3 separate regions of the Homo sapiens genome follow, and all the other regions are linked to region 1. The links are contacts of gene promoters, found by promoter capture Hi-C in blood cells and fetal thymus (Javierre and others, 2016). All regions are on one chromosome and are shown on one strand. The core of a region is centred on a gene start or on the middle of the fragment in contact, and the rest is flanking DNA. Distances in the headings are between cores, read along the strand shown.

Evidence for each region. Contacts are between HindIII fragments. The CHiCAGO score rates a contact against its expected background, and 5 or more counts as called.
Region 2: a fragment that was not itself captured here is called in contact with the fragment with the promoter of SNRPB in region 1 in 1 of 17 cell types (fetal thymus); the score reaches 5.4 in fetal thymus.
Region 3: a contact is called between a fragment that was not itself captured here and the fragment with the promoter of SNRPB in region 1, in 1 of 17 cell types (total B cells). The highest score is 5.6, in total B cells.

Annotation. Positions count from the first base shown.
Region 1 is chr20:2,468,897-2,473,591 of GRCh38, forward strand. SNRPB (small nuclear ribonucleoprotein polypeptides B and B1) reads right to left here and starts at 1,893. Exons shown (of 7, transcript NM_003091.4): 1 at 1,792-1,893. The coding sequence starts at 1,794. RefSeq lists enhancers at 1,513-1,632, 1,793-1,842, 1,853-1,902. The HindIII fragment of the contact is 1,844 bases long and covers 478-2,321 here.
Region 2 is chr20:1,385,436-1,390,130 of GRCh38, forward strand. The region is part of intron 2 of FKBP1A (FKBP prolyl isomerase 1A); the gene reads right to left. The region is part of intron 2 of FKBP1A-SDCBP2 (FKBP1A-SDCBP2 readthrough (NMD candidate)); the gene reads right to left. Among named protein-coding and RNA genes, the nearest start is that of MIR6869, 5.2 kb to the right of the region's middle. The HindIII fragment of the contact is 3,972 bases long and covers 1,460-4,695 here.
Region 3 is chr20:1,461,775-1,466,469 of GRCh38, forward strand. It overlaps NSFL1C (NSFL1 cofactor), which reads right to left. Exons shown (of 9, transcript NM_016143.5): 2 at 2,555-2,652. Among named protein-coding and RNA genes, the nearest start is that of NSFL1C, 2.7 kb to the right of the region's middle. RefSeq lists an enhancer at 4,304-4,695. The HindIII fragment of the contact is 2,711 bases long and covers 1,290-4,000 here.

The DNA of each region.
Region 1 (4,695 bases), core at 643-3,142:
GCCTGGGTGACAGGGAAAGACTCCATCTCAAAAAAACAAAAACAAAACTTGACTCCACACAAAGATACTGCGAGCCTCCCTCAGGTTAGGTGGTTCAGTTTCCATTCAATGACCATTTTAACCAGCTTCTAACCACAAGGGATCTGAACCTTTAGGGCAACATTCACTGGTCCAGCTCAACTAATGTTTACTGGGTGCTCACTGTGTATCTGGCACTGTGATAAGCACAGTACATCTCATTTAATCCCCAAAATTGGGCCCATTATTATCCCTATTTTACAGATGAGGTCACTGAGGCTAGGAGAGGTTAAGTAACTTGCCCAGTTTCACAGCTGGGAAGCTGTGTTGGAACCTAGACAAAATGAATCCAGCGCCTATTCTAACCAGTTATCCAAACAATATCCTACCAGGTTTCCCTGCTTCCAGTCCCATCGAATATACATGCCAGAGCTAGAGCAATCTTTCTAAACACCACTAAGCTTATGTCATTTTGCTGGTTAAAATCCTTCAGTGGGCAGGGTGTGGTGGCTCACGGCTGTAATCCCAGCACTTTGGGAGGCCAAGGTGGGTGGATTAACTGAGGTCAGGAGTTCGAGACCAGTCTGGCCAACATGGTGAAACCCCGTCTCTACTAAAAATACAAAAAATTAGCCAAGTGTGGTGGCGGGTACCTACAATCCCAGCTACTTGGGAGGCTGAGGCAGGAGAATCGCTTGAACCCGGGAGGTGGAGTTTGCAGTGAACCCTGATCGATCCACCGCACTCCAGCCTGGGCAACAAAAGCAAAACTCCGTCTCAAAAAAATAAAAATAAATTAAATTAAATCCTTCAATGACATGCCTCACCACCACTGAGGTAAAATTAACATGCAAGGCCTTTAGTAACTAGCCTCCTGCCAATTCTTCCCGTCTTCCCTTCTTTCTTCCTTTCTCCTCCAGCAACTTTTTCTCAGTCAACAAACGCAGAAAAATCCAGTAACTTTTTAAATCTTGTTACCCTTCAGCCTTTGTTCCTTCAGTTCTCCGGGTCTGTAATATTCCCCCCATTTTCGCCGGGAACATTCTTGCTAATCTTTTAGGAATCTGCTCAGGAACCATCTATTTGAGAAAACATTCTTACCCCGCCCCGCTGCCGTTACTTTTACCGAATGACCACACTGAATTATATTATGTGTCCCCAGCTACCTCTGTGAAGGAAGCAAACATATTTCAGAGAGTAGCCCCAGCGCCTGAGAAGTCAGGCACAGGCAAACACGGAAACGTGATGAGCAACTGAGTGGAGCTCTTCCTCCATTCGCCATCACCCTCCTCCGCCCTCCTCTCCATCCAGCAGACCTAGCGAGACTCTAGCGTGGTCCACGAGCCCCTTCCACCCACTTCCGCCAACTCTTTCTCAGACTCACAAACTTCCGCAAGTCTGAGCCTTTTACCGGGTCCCCCTGCGGCTCCAGTGCCTGCTCCGAAGCCCGGGACATATATTTATTCGGCAAAAGTTAACTTAGTGCCTACTGGGTCCCAGGAATTATGGCTACAGCGGTGTCGAGAGCCGCGGTTCTACCCTCGCCCCTGCCGAGCGACCTCGGCCTCCGACACCGGTTCCAACCTTTTCCTCGACCCCATGCCTAGCCGAACCGCCAAGGTCCTGGTCTTTCCCGCCCAGACCGAGCGGCCTCGGCCCAGGCCTTCACCGCCCTAAGTGGCTCCAACCCACGGCTTCCTCCCCGATCAGTCGCGGTTCCCACTCCACAACAGACTCGGAAGCTCCCGCGCCGCCAGCCTGTGCCCTCCTTACCATGGTGGCGGTTCTGATGGCTCTGATACCCGCCGGATTCGCCTCCTCAGAGGCCTAGCCTCTCTCCCACAGCCGATTTCCCGCCGCCGCTACCGGAAATGCAGCACCACGTAAAATGCGGTCGGGTAGAAACCTACTTCCGGTCCAGCTCACTAGCCCTGGAGTTCCGGCCCCGGAGCGGAGCTTCTGCCGAGCAGAGGCGGGGCCTGGGGACTGGGCGTTAACATCCGGCTTTGACGTAAGGAGAGCCTTAAGTTCCTGTTTGGACACCTTCCTAGCTTAAATCCGTACTGAGAGCTGCTCTGTGTCACACTCATTTCTCTTCACCCCGCCTTTCCCATTAACCTCTCGGTCCTCATTTCCCATCACCCTCCCCGGCTCTCTCCTCTACAGTCACTATTCTTGCTTTTCCCTCCACTGGCTGGACGTGCTCCTTTTTCAGCCCCTCTGCATTTGCTTTCGCCTCTGCCTGGAATGGTAGTCCCCAAGGTATACCAGAAGGCTGCTGCCCTCACCTCTTTCAAGGTTTAAGCTTAAATAACATTTTCCCAGTGAGGATTTCCCTAGCCATCCTGTAACCTTCCCACCCACCTCATCCTCATCTCTCCTGTATTTCCCTCTTGCTATCTAACACGCTGTATATTTTTGTTAGTTATTTTATTATCCCCTCCCCATTAGAATGTAAGATCCATAAGGGTGTGAATTTTTCTCTTTGTGTATTACTCATTGCTGTAGTGCCTAGAACACTTTAGCACAAAATAAGGGCTCTACCCATATTTGCTGATAATCGCATCCAGTCGTATGACATTTATTTTTTTTCTATGACTTTTTTTTTTCTTTTGAGACAGAGTCTCAGTCTGTCACCAAGGCTGGAGTGCAGTGGCACAATCTCGGCTCACTGCAACCTCTGCCTCCCCGGTTCAAGCGATTCTCCTGCCTCAGCCTCCCGAGTAGCTGGGAATACAGGCCTGTGCCACCACACTCGGCTAATTTTTGTATTTTTAGTAGAGACGGGGTTTTGCCATGTTGGCCAGGCTGGTCTCGAACTCCTGACCTCAACTCCTGGTCTCGAACTCCTGATCCACCCACTTTGGCCTCCCAAAGTGCTGGAATTACAGGCGTGAACCATCACACTGGGCCCTTCCTATGACTTTTAAATACAGCATATACACCCAAGGCTTTCAAGTTTGTTCCTCTAACCTTGGTCTCTTCATTTAACTCTTGGCCCTTTATATCCAGCTGCCAGCGTGATGTGAATGTCTAATAGGTATACCAAATTTAACATGTTGAAAACTGAATTCTTGATTCTATTCACTGTTTCTAAAACCACTTCACCAGTGTTCCCCATCCCCGAAGTTTCTTGGATTAAAAAAGAAAAAAAAGAAAATGACAAATTTGAAGCATATTTCATTCTTCTCTTTCTCTGCCATCGAATAATCAAATTCATCAGCAAATCCTGTGGCCCCCACCTTCAAATTATCTTGAATATGATTGTTGTCACCCACTCCATTGCGTCCACTCTAGTCATAGCCACCATCGTCTCTGTCTTGGATCATTGAACGAGCCCGTAACTTGTCTCTTTGCTTCCTTTCTTGTTCTCACGGCAGCCAGAGGGATCCTTCTAAACGTACTGGGATATCAGATGATGTCATGTCCTGGTCTCCACTTACCAAAAACTTCCCAGCACACATGGAATAAAATCTAGCTCTGCGCTCCTCTCCAACCTCATTCATCTCCGTCAACATTGCCCTCATTCATCCTTCTCCAGTCACACTAATCTCCTTGCTGTTCCTCAAACCCAGCAAGGAGAGCTTCCACCTTGGTGCTTTGCCATCTTCACACCATCTCTAAAGGGTGTGTTCTGTTGTCCCGTTTCCTGTCACCTGTAGATGAAGAGGCGAAGCCTCATAGAAATGAATTATGTTGCCCAAAGTGGCGGAGTCAGAGTGGGAATATAGGTCCGTCTGGCTCCTCAGCTGTTCATTTGCCCCCACCTTACCCAGCTGCCTAACACTTCATTCATGCATGCATTTAAAATCATTTTTATTTAGCATCTACTAAGGCCATGCACCATTATTGGGATAGAGTCCTTTCCCTCACGGAGCTTTACATCCTACTGAGAAAGACATAGTAAACCAAATAAATAAGTATGCAATGTAACATTAGAGTGATATGAAAAAAATAAATAAAGGCAGAGGAACTGAGAGGGATAGGGTACAGTTTTGGCTAGGTGGTCAGGGGAAACTTCTCTGAGGAGTGGTATGTGAGCAGAGACCTGAACCTACACTCAGGTCTATCAGAAGGATGAATATTATGAAGGACATTCTAGAAAATGTATATAAAGGGAATCATATAATAATACGTGGTCTTTTGTGACTACCTTCTTTCACTTAGCACAATGTTTTTAAGGCTCATCCATGTCATGACACGTATCAATACTCCATTCCTTTTTATGGCCAAATAACATTCCATTGTATGGATGTACAGTAGTCCCCCCATATCCATCTTTCACTTTCTGTGGTTTCAGTTACCCACAATCAACTGCAGTATAAAAATAGGTGAGTACAGTACAAGATATTTTGAGACCACATTCATATAACTTTTATTACAGTATATTTTTATAACTGTTCTATTAGTATTGTTAATCTCTTACTGTACCTAATTTATAAATTAAACTTTATCATAGCTATGTATGTATAAGAGAAAATAGTATATATAGGGTTTGGTAGTATCTGCCGTTCCATGAATCCACTGGTGATCTTGGAATATAACCTCCTCAGATAAGGAGGGAACTACCATATTTTATCAGTTCATCAAATGACGAACATTTGGATTGCTTCCACCTTTTGGCTGTTATAAATAATGCTGCTGTAAACATCGTGTACAAGTCTTCACGTGGACATG
Region 2 (4,695 bases), core at 2,196-4,695, 1.1 Mb before region 1:
GGTAGAAATATGCATTTTCTATAGGGTATAATGGTTAAAGGCATGAGTTCTGGACCTCTGTTACAGACTATTATTACAACTCCCTCCCTGGTCTCCCTGCTTCTGCTCTTGCTCTCCTACAGTCTAAACCTGACACAGCAGCCAGACCCTACTACCCCTCGGCTGAAAAACTCCTGTGACTCCCCCATCTCAGGAGATAAAACTCTTAAAATGGCCTACAAGACCCTCTAAGAAGTGTCAAGCCTCCGCCCCTACCACCATCCCTCTGACTTCACCTCTGATTACTCTTGTACTTTTCCAGTCCCAGAACATTGTTTCCTTATGTTCTACATACACACCAGGGATACCTCCACCCGTGGGCCTTTGCATTTGCTGTTCTCTCTGCCTAAAATGATCTTGCTCAAACAGTCACATAGGTTACATCCTTACCTCCTTCAAGTCTTTGCTCAAATGTCACTTTCTCATTGAGGCCTTTGCCAATCTATCTAAAACCTCAACCTTTTCCTATTCCCTCCTTAACACTTACTAGCTTATACACAACAGTCTTGCTTATTAATCATATTTATTATGTCTTTTCCACTACAGTGTGAGATGAAGGCAGGAACTGTGTCTTCTTCACTCCTAAATTCTTGGTAGCCAGGACAGTGTCTTGTACATAGCAGACATTCATCAAGTACTTACAGAAATATCAAAGGTACCCTTTTCTCCTCCTGGCCTGTGTATATACCTGGAAGACGCTTTCCTCCTGCCTGACTGCACCATACACACCCAAGACCAAATGGCACTTCCTCCAAGAAGTTCTAGCCTATAGGTGTAGGTTGCCTGAGGTACTTTCATTGTAACTGACCACTCCCTACAGGGTAAGCTTCTTGAGGGCAACATTGAGGCTTTGCCCAGCTCCTTATATATTCACTGAGTGACCGAGGGAATGCCAGGTCCTAACTGGCCACTCATTCAAACAGTCACTGAATAGCTACTCTATGCCAAGACTGATGGGGAGACCTTGGAGAACAACACTAGTGTGGGTCTGGCCTCCTGGAGCCTTCAGTCGGTTGGGGAAAGAGCAGATGTTTAACTACACGGATCCTGACTATGATGGGGGCTAAGAAAATAGATGGGTGCATTGTTGCAGAATTAGAAGCATGCATGTATGCATCCAAAGTGTTACTTAAGCTGTGCTATAAAGAAAAGAGCCTGTCATGCAGTGGGGAGTGGGGGCAGTGTGGTGGCACCTAAGCAAAGGGGCAGAGACCTCCATGTGGGAAAAGGCTTGGAGCATTCGAGGAATGAATGCAGGCCAAGGTGGCTTGAGCTCCTGGGAGAGGAAGAGCAAATGTAACAGAAAGAGACAGTAGCATCTAAGAACTGGTTATTTCTACCTCCCCGACTTTCTGCACTGCTAGAATACACCTGGTCAAAATCAAAGGGGTCCAGGGGAGGGAATGCAGAGACTTGGTTAAGCTTTTTAGCAGGAAAAGAAAACAAAAAAACAGAAGAAAAAATAGAAGTAAAAATAAACAAATGTCACCATGAGCACCAAAGGGAGAACTGAATGCTATGTGATTAAGTTATTCATAACCTTGGCTTCTTCCATGGGAAACAGCAGGTGACAATATTTTTAGAGAAAATTCCAAGGCAGACAAATGATTTCCAGTTTATGGATACAATAAACCCCTCAGTAATTCATAAAAATCAGTTTAAGCCTAAAAATGTTCTAGTTAAAACATCTATGAGTAAATAGGTGAATTTATGGTATGTAAATTATATTCAATAAAGCTGTTACCAAGAAAAAAAAAGGTCATGGACCCCACTGAAAGGAACCAGAGCTCTTTGAAAGATGGCTGATAATTGGACCAGAGTAGTGAAACCGAGAAATGGATGAAGGAATGGTGGGAGCCTGTCAAAAAGGTACTGGAGCCAGCTTAAAGGGCTCCTACTGGCCAAATTTAGGATGATATTAGCATCAAAAAGAATAATGGGTATCATTGATCTTAAGGCCCTGACAAAAAATTTCAGCCCACAGTACAGTCAAAGCAAATAGAGGGGGAAAAAGTCACTTGCCCCCACTGGGAATGGCAATACCCCATCAGTTAACATTCATTTTTCATTTTAAAAATTGGTAATTAAAGGCTGGGCACGGTGGCTCATGCCTGTACTACCAGCACTTTGGGAGGCTAAGGAGGGTGGATCACTTGAGGCCAGGAGTTTGAGACTAGCCTGGGAAACCTGGCGAAACCCGTCTCTACAAAAAATACAAAAATTAGGACAGGTGGCATGCACCTGTATGCCCAACTATTCAGAAGGCCGGATGGGAGGCCGGGATGGGAGTCTGGGAGGTCGAGGCTACAGTGAGCCATGATCAAGCCACTGCACTCCAGCCTGAGTGACAGAGACACTGTCTCAAAAAATAAAAATAAAATTTGGTATTTAAAGGTAAAGAATTACTTTACCTTATCTTATAGAAGGATAACAGCTAATAAATTTAGAAAGAATGAAGGAATTTTAAAAATCAACACTTTGTGAATGCCAGTGACTTCTTCAGGGGAGAATGATCAGATGGTGTAAACACCACTAGGTGAAAGGCTGATGAGCAAGAGACCATCTATGGCTACCTAAGCACTCCACAGATCACTGCTAAATGCAAAGGGAAAAATGTACCTTTACAGAAAAGATCAAATTTAGCATCACAACTAGTGATGTTTCCCATGTGTGCTGAGGATGAAGTACTCACACTAAAATGTTTAAACGGAATCTATTCAGACACTTAAAAGATTAAACATCCGGTTCAGAAAATCAAGGCAGGGAACAAGTTAAACAATACCATGAGAAAACAGTAAGACAGATGTGGAGTATTCTATAACTAGCCTGCTCTCTTTGAAGAAATCAGAGTTATTAAGAAAAAAACAGCGTAAGGACTCTTCTAGACTGAGATTACAGACATAACAACTGCGATGAGTGAGGCTCAATGGAACTGTGGTTTTAAAAAAGAGCAACACTTTGGAGACAACTGGGTAGTCTCGATAGGCATTTGCTTCACAGCAGGCATCGTTACTCCCATTTTATAGACAGCATGTGGAAGCTGGGAACTGTGGGACAATTTGTTCAAGCTCTCATAGCCCGTTGTATGGCAGGGTCAAGATCAGAACACAGCGAAGAACCCACATGCTCTTTGGGGATCACTGTCCACCTGGCACCACTTCTGCCCACTGCCTGAGCTGGCACTCCACACACCTGGGATACAACCAGTGTCCTGTTTCTGCCTTTGCCCCCAAAAGCCCATTGTCCACACAGTAGCCAGAAGGAGCGTGGGTTGGGGGGGCGGGGGCGGGCATTAAAAGCCAAGCCAGCCAGTGGCTCTCACCTGAGTTAGAAAAAGGCAACGTTTTTATAAAAACCAACGAGGCTCCACCATCCCCTCATCTCCTGCCACATACCCTTTCACACAATCCACTTCCTGTTCCTCTAACGCACCGGTCTTCTTACTGTTCCTCTAATGCACCGAGCAGGCTCCAGCCTCAGGGTCCTGCACTAGCTCTTCCCTCTGCCTGGATACTCTAGACAGCCCTGTAGCTCCCTCTCCAATGTCCTTTGAGTGAATGTTAAAATGCCATTTTTTTCAGAGGCCTTTTCCAATCACCCTCACGAAAAGCAGCCAACTTCCCTTCCCATCCCTCACTCTGCTTTAATCTCTCCAGCGCTTCTTACTACCTGATGTGCTCCATGGCCATACTATCAGTCTCCTCATCATAAGCAAAGCCCCACCAGATCAGGTCTTTGTCTATTTAGTTCACTAGCCATGTCCCTAGAGCCTGGCTTGCTGCTGTTGCTCAAAAAACATCTGCTGTGGGAAGGCAAAGGGACTTGTTGCAGCCCTGCCCAACAGTTACAGCCTGTGTGCCTCAAGACAGCACACGTCAGGGGAAGCCATCTGAGGCATCTCTGCTGAGGGTGAGCCTCCCTCCAGACATCAGATCACCAACCAAGAGATACCTAGCAAGGGAGTGGATGGAATAAAGCAGAGGAGAGGGGGGAACAAAGCTAAGGAAAAGCAAGGGGCTTGAGGGAGGCTGCAGCAAAGTGGCCACACCTGTCCCGGGAGCCTCAGCAGCCTTCCCAGTCAACCTCCTGAGGACATGAGGTTGAGGGGCTCCTGGTTTTTCTCAGTCAGAAACCGGGAGGCTATACCTGACTTAAACCTGATCCCAAGGACAAAATGTCCAGTTAGTTACTTTTTAAGAAGAAAAAAGAAAACATTCCTTCAATCCCCTTGGGGCTGCTCTCACAATGGCAGGCACACGGCCTGCTGAAGTAAGTAAAAGAGGTCTAAACCTAGCTGTGTGCCAGGACAAGCTAACAGTAAAGATGACGAAGCTACTGGAGGCAGCAGGGAGGCGCCATGAGAATTCCCTGGCTCCTAAAGGCACTTACTTGGCAGCTTACCTTTCCACCACCTCCCTCCCACCTCAATGCCTGTCATGCTCCTAGGAGATGCTTAGCTGGTGATAGTGAACTTTGTATTTTCCCTCTGGTACCACAGAGGTAGTGCAGGCATTCCTTTGAGGCCTTGCTCATGCTGTGCTCTGCCAGAAGGTCACGGAAGTCACCAGAGGGACCCTTGAGAGTGACATCAAGGTGACTGACAGCCATTAGTGGCATTTAAAGCATCCATGTGGTAAAGGTCAGTCTGTGCTCTGC
Region 3 (4,695 bases), core at 1,395-3,894, 1.0 Mb before region 1:
GCTAACAGTACTAACAACAGTACTAACCTCACAGGGTTGCTGTGAGGACTAAAAAGATGTTCATGTAAAAGCTTAACTCAGTGCCTCACTCGTAAATACTCAATAAATGGCAGCTGTTATTACTGAGTTTAAACTGTCTCCTATAGCAATGGTTAACATTTTTATGTCTGTCAGCCCTTTGAGAATCTCATAAAAGCCATGGACTCTCTTGCCACAAAAGATACCTGCTAACATGTACACAAACTTTTGCCTGTAATTTCAGGTATTAATAGAGACCTTCTCACGCTCATTTCATAGATTCCTCCTAGGGTTCTCGGGCTCCATATTAAGAATCCTTATTCTAGAGTTGGGTGTTGCTCTGAGGCAGCAGTGACAACATAAAAGGGTATGTGAGAAGTCAAAAGTGGGGGATGGGAGAGGGCAGCAGCTGGCTAAGTGTCCTGCAACTGCCAGGTCAAAGCAGAGGCAGGCCCCACACAGAATTCCTCTGAGGTGCTAGCACAAGTTTGGTTTTTCCTGAGAATGTAGTCCTAGCATTTGCTTTCCTCCTCAACAAGGACAAACCATGCAACACACTGCGCCCTCCTCCCTCCCTTTTTCTTGTCTTCAGTTCTTTTCTAAGCCTACTACCAAGTCTGAGCCTTAACCAGAGCAATAAAGCAATGCCTCTTGGACCAAATGTGCGTCCAGTCTTTTTACTCACTTCAGTTCTAATGTTAAACTCTATGTCCTTGATTCTTTTACTTTTATGCCTTTTTTTTTTTTGAGACAGAGTCTTGCTCTGTCGCCCAGGCTGGAGTGCAGTGGCGCAATCTCGACTCACTGCAAGCTCCGCCCCCCGGGTTCACGCCATTCTCCTGCCTCAGCCTCCCGGGTAGCTGGGATGACAGGCTCCTGCCACCACACCTGGCTAATTTTTTTTGTATTTTTAGTAGAGACGGGGTTTCACCATGTTAGCCAGGATGGTCTCAATCTCCTGACCTCGTGATCCACCAGTCTCGGCCTCCCAAAGTGCTGGGATTACAGGTGTGAGCCACCGCGCCTGGCCACTTTTATGCCTATTCTTAAATGTACATACTTGTTGGGGAATAGAGTAAACAAAACAGGTCAATTGAGAATGAATGCTAAAAATGATAATACTAAAATTATAATAACAACACATGCTGTGTTCTATTTGCTTTGTAAGTATTAACTCATTCAGTCTCCCATGTGGTAGGCACTATCATTACCATTTGACAGGCGAGGAAAATGAGGAACTGAAACGTTAAGTAACCTGCCCAAGGTCACAAAGCTTTTACTTAAGTGGCAGAGCTGGGATTTGAACCAACGCAGTCAGGCTCCTGGGCCCATGCTAATAAACCACTGCCTTAATAGAACTTTGGGATTACTGGAGAAAAGAAAGGAGTAAACATGTAACTGGCATTAGAGACTAAGTTTAAATCTCTCCCCCTCTATAATTCTGACATGCCAACATCCCAACAACACCCTAAGGTGGCTGTCAAAGACTCATACCCCAGAAAATCAGCCATCTCTACTAGCAGCTGCAAGAACAGCACTTACCCTAACAACATGTCCCAAGCAGTAATACCCAGATGTGCCATCACCAACATCTCATAGGTTAGCACGTGCAAACAGTTACAAGATCACTTTCCTCCTACCTCTTTTCTCTGGATGGGAGTTAGGGAAAGAAGAAAGCAATGAGATCTGGGGTTAGTGCTCCTTCTTCGAAGGGAGGAAATATATTTTAAACCTCAGTTGCCTTTAGAGAGAAACATAATTTACCACTTCATGGCAAAGAAACACTGTTGGTTATATTCTGGGGTTGAATTCAAACCCAAATAAAATTTCCTGGCTAAAACATACACTAGAGAGTAGAAGCAATAAGGCGAAAGCAGAGAGGGGAGACACCTCTGCTTACACACTCTCTGTAAAGGTTCAGACACCTTTACAGGAAGCACCCCTGCCTGTCTCCTGGAAGACCAGCATTGTCTCACTCTGCAGAGCACAGGAGTAATCTGCTGTGGGTGCTGTGGGAGGCAGCGACAGGGGATGCAAATGGGATTGCAAAGGTTAACACTGTTTTACCTAGTAAGACAAGGTCTCCCTAATCAACTTGGCAAAGGGTGGGTTACACAGGTTTATTTTGTACAAGACTTCTTAATAAGGTAACGGGCATCCTAAAATATCAAAACAGCTTTCCTAAGTCATTTCGCCTAAACTTTCACATCTATAGCACCCTTGAAAGGAAGTTTTTTGGCTTTTACTTAAAAACTTTAGAGTTGCAGTGGTCATTCCTCATACTACATAAGTAAAAGTCTTAAAAGTAGGTTTGTGGTTTCCCCCAGGATTGAACCATAAACCACACCCAGTTAAAAGTCATGCATCTCTGTATAGGAAATGACTGAGGCCTGCTGGGAAGTACTACCCATTGACTCAGTCTAACCTTCTCATTCAGACCTGGTCCACACACCCAGGCCTGAACGCTCTGGTCAGAAAATAGCTCCTCTTCACTGCTGGAAACACTCATGTAGCGATAATTGAAGCTGGCCCTTACCTGGGGGCTGTGCCTCTGGACACTGAACTGGGGGTTGCCTGCGAAATGGTCACAATGTCTTCATCCCCTCCGTCCTCATAAAAGCTCGCTAGCGCGATCTGAAACAGAGAGGTAGTACCTTGGGACCCTTAAACAGGCCTTCACCTAACGCACATCTCCTTTGAGCACAAAGGAATACAGACATGGCCAACACTTACAAGGTAGCTTGCATCCATGGGCCAAAGAAAATTAGACCAGAAGGTTAACAGCTCAGCTGTTAGTCTTCGTGTCAACTGAAACAAATTCCACCCACTAAGGTGAAAAGAAGGCAGTAAGAATGGCTGGGGTGGAAGACACTCTTTATTCTCATTTTATGAAGAAACGTGATCTAGTAAAAGTAGCACACATTTAGTGAGCATTTACATGCCAGGTTGTTCTGAGCATTCTACATACGTTAATTTGTTTAATCCTCAAGAACTCTATGCTATTAGTACTCTTATCATCTCATTTTATAGTTGATACAGAAGCACTGAGGATTAAAAAAAAATTTGTTCAAGTTTACACAACTGGTAAAGAGAGGAGCCAGGTTCCATCCCTGCTAGTGTGCTTAGGCCCTCACTCTTAAGCGCTTCCAGTACAGCCCGGAGTCAGGAACTGTGGAGTCAGTCCAGGTTGCTACTTTTCCTTTCTTTCAAGTTGTTTCCTAATCTGTGAAATGGGGGTACCTGTCTCACCAACCTGCACACTGGATGAGATAATCCATTAAGATTTATGCATACTCGCATCTTAGGTTTACACATACAGAAGGAATATGGGAATCCTTTGGTCATTTGTGACATCTCTGTCACCAACTCAACGGACAGGCATTCACTAATCACTTGCTTTGCACAAACACAAGAAAGCATTGAGGTCACAGAGATGAAATAGACATGGCCTCTGTCCTCAGGGTCACCAACTTCACAGGAGACAGTGAGCTGTCAAGGGATAAAAGTAATCTGCTGGGAGGCAGTGTGCTGTCTCAGGCCATGTAGTGAACTGGCATTCTCAGGGAGCCTACATTCAAGTCCTGTTCCTGCCAGGCAAGTCACATGCATGATCCTCAGTTTCCCCACTACAATGTGAGGGGAACGAGACAGAAGATCTGTTGGTCACAACACTGTGTGCTTTTAGGTCTTTCAGGTAGAAACTTTTTATTTCTGCCCAGCATAGGGGCTTCCCATTGTGTCTAGGTGTGATCTAGGTGTGATGCTTTACCGAATTCTTATGTTTGGGGAGTAATTTACGTTTGGCAGCAGACTCAGTTCAAATTCCAACCCCGCTACTTACTGGCTATGTGACCCTGAGCAAATTCTTTGCCCTCTGTGCTTCCAATTCCTCATCCATAAAATGGGTCTAGTCTTTACCTCATAGTGTTGCTAGGATCCAACGAATCATATTATGTAAAGTGCTTGGCACATGGTGGTTTAAAGCTTGGGCTCTGTCTGCTTGCAATCAGACAGAACTGGGTTCCACTTCTACCTCTTCTGCCTGGTAGCTAGTGAGGCCTTGAGCAAGTTACTTAACCTCTTTAATCTCAGCTGCAAAATGCGAAGGTTAAATGACAAAAGACATGTAAAGCAGTCAGAACAGCGCTTGGCTCATGGTAGGTACTCAATAAATATTAGTCATCACCGTCATCATCTACCTAAGACGAAGCTGGCCAAGAATATTTATGCAATTCTTTCTACAGTTAATTACCGAATGCTTATTATGTGCCAGGCATTGTTCCAGGCACTGGGAATTCATCAGTGTACAAAAATCCCTGCCTCGTGAAGCTTAAGTCTTCTTAGCAAGTATTTAGTGAATACTCAGTACGTGCCAATGAACTACACAGCAATTTCCACGAGACTCCCATTTTACAGATAAGTTAACTACGCAAGGTGAAGAAGCTCCAACCTTGCGCCACCACCCCAGAGGTATTCTCCCAGCAATTAGGAAGGCTGGGCGGCGGTCAACTCCCGGGCTGGACTTCGGAAGTGGAAATGAGCGGCCACCTAGTCCCGAGTGGGGCTTCACCCAAGAGCTGCTCACTCGGACCAGCCCGGCCTCCAGCAGATACTCGGCGCGGCAGCCACGCCCCCAGGCGCTCCCTCTCCTCGCCGGCTGCCGCAGCGCCCGAAGTC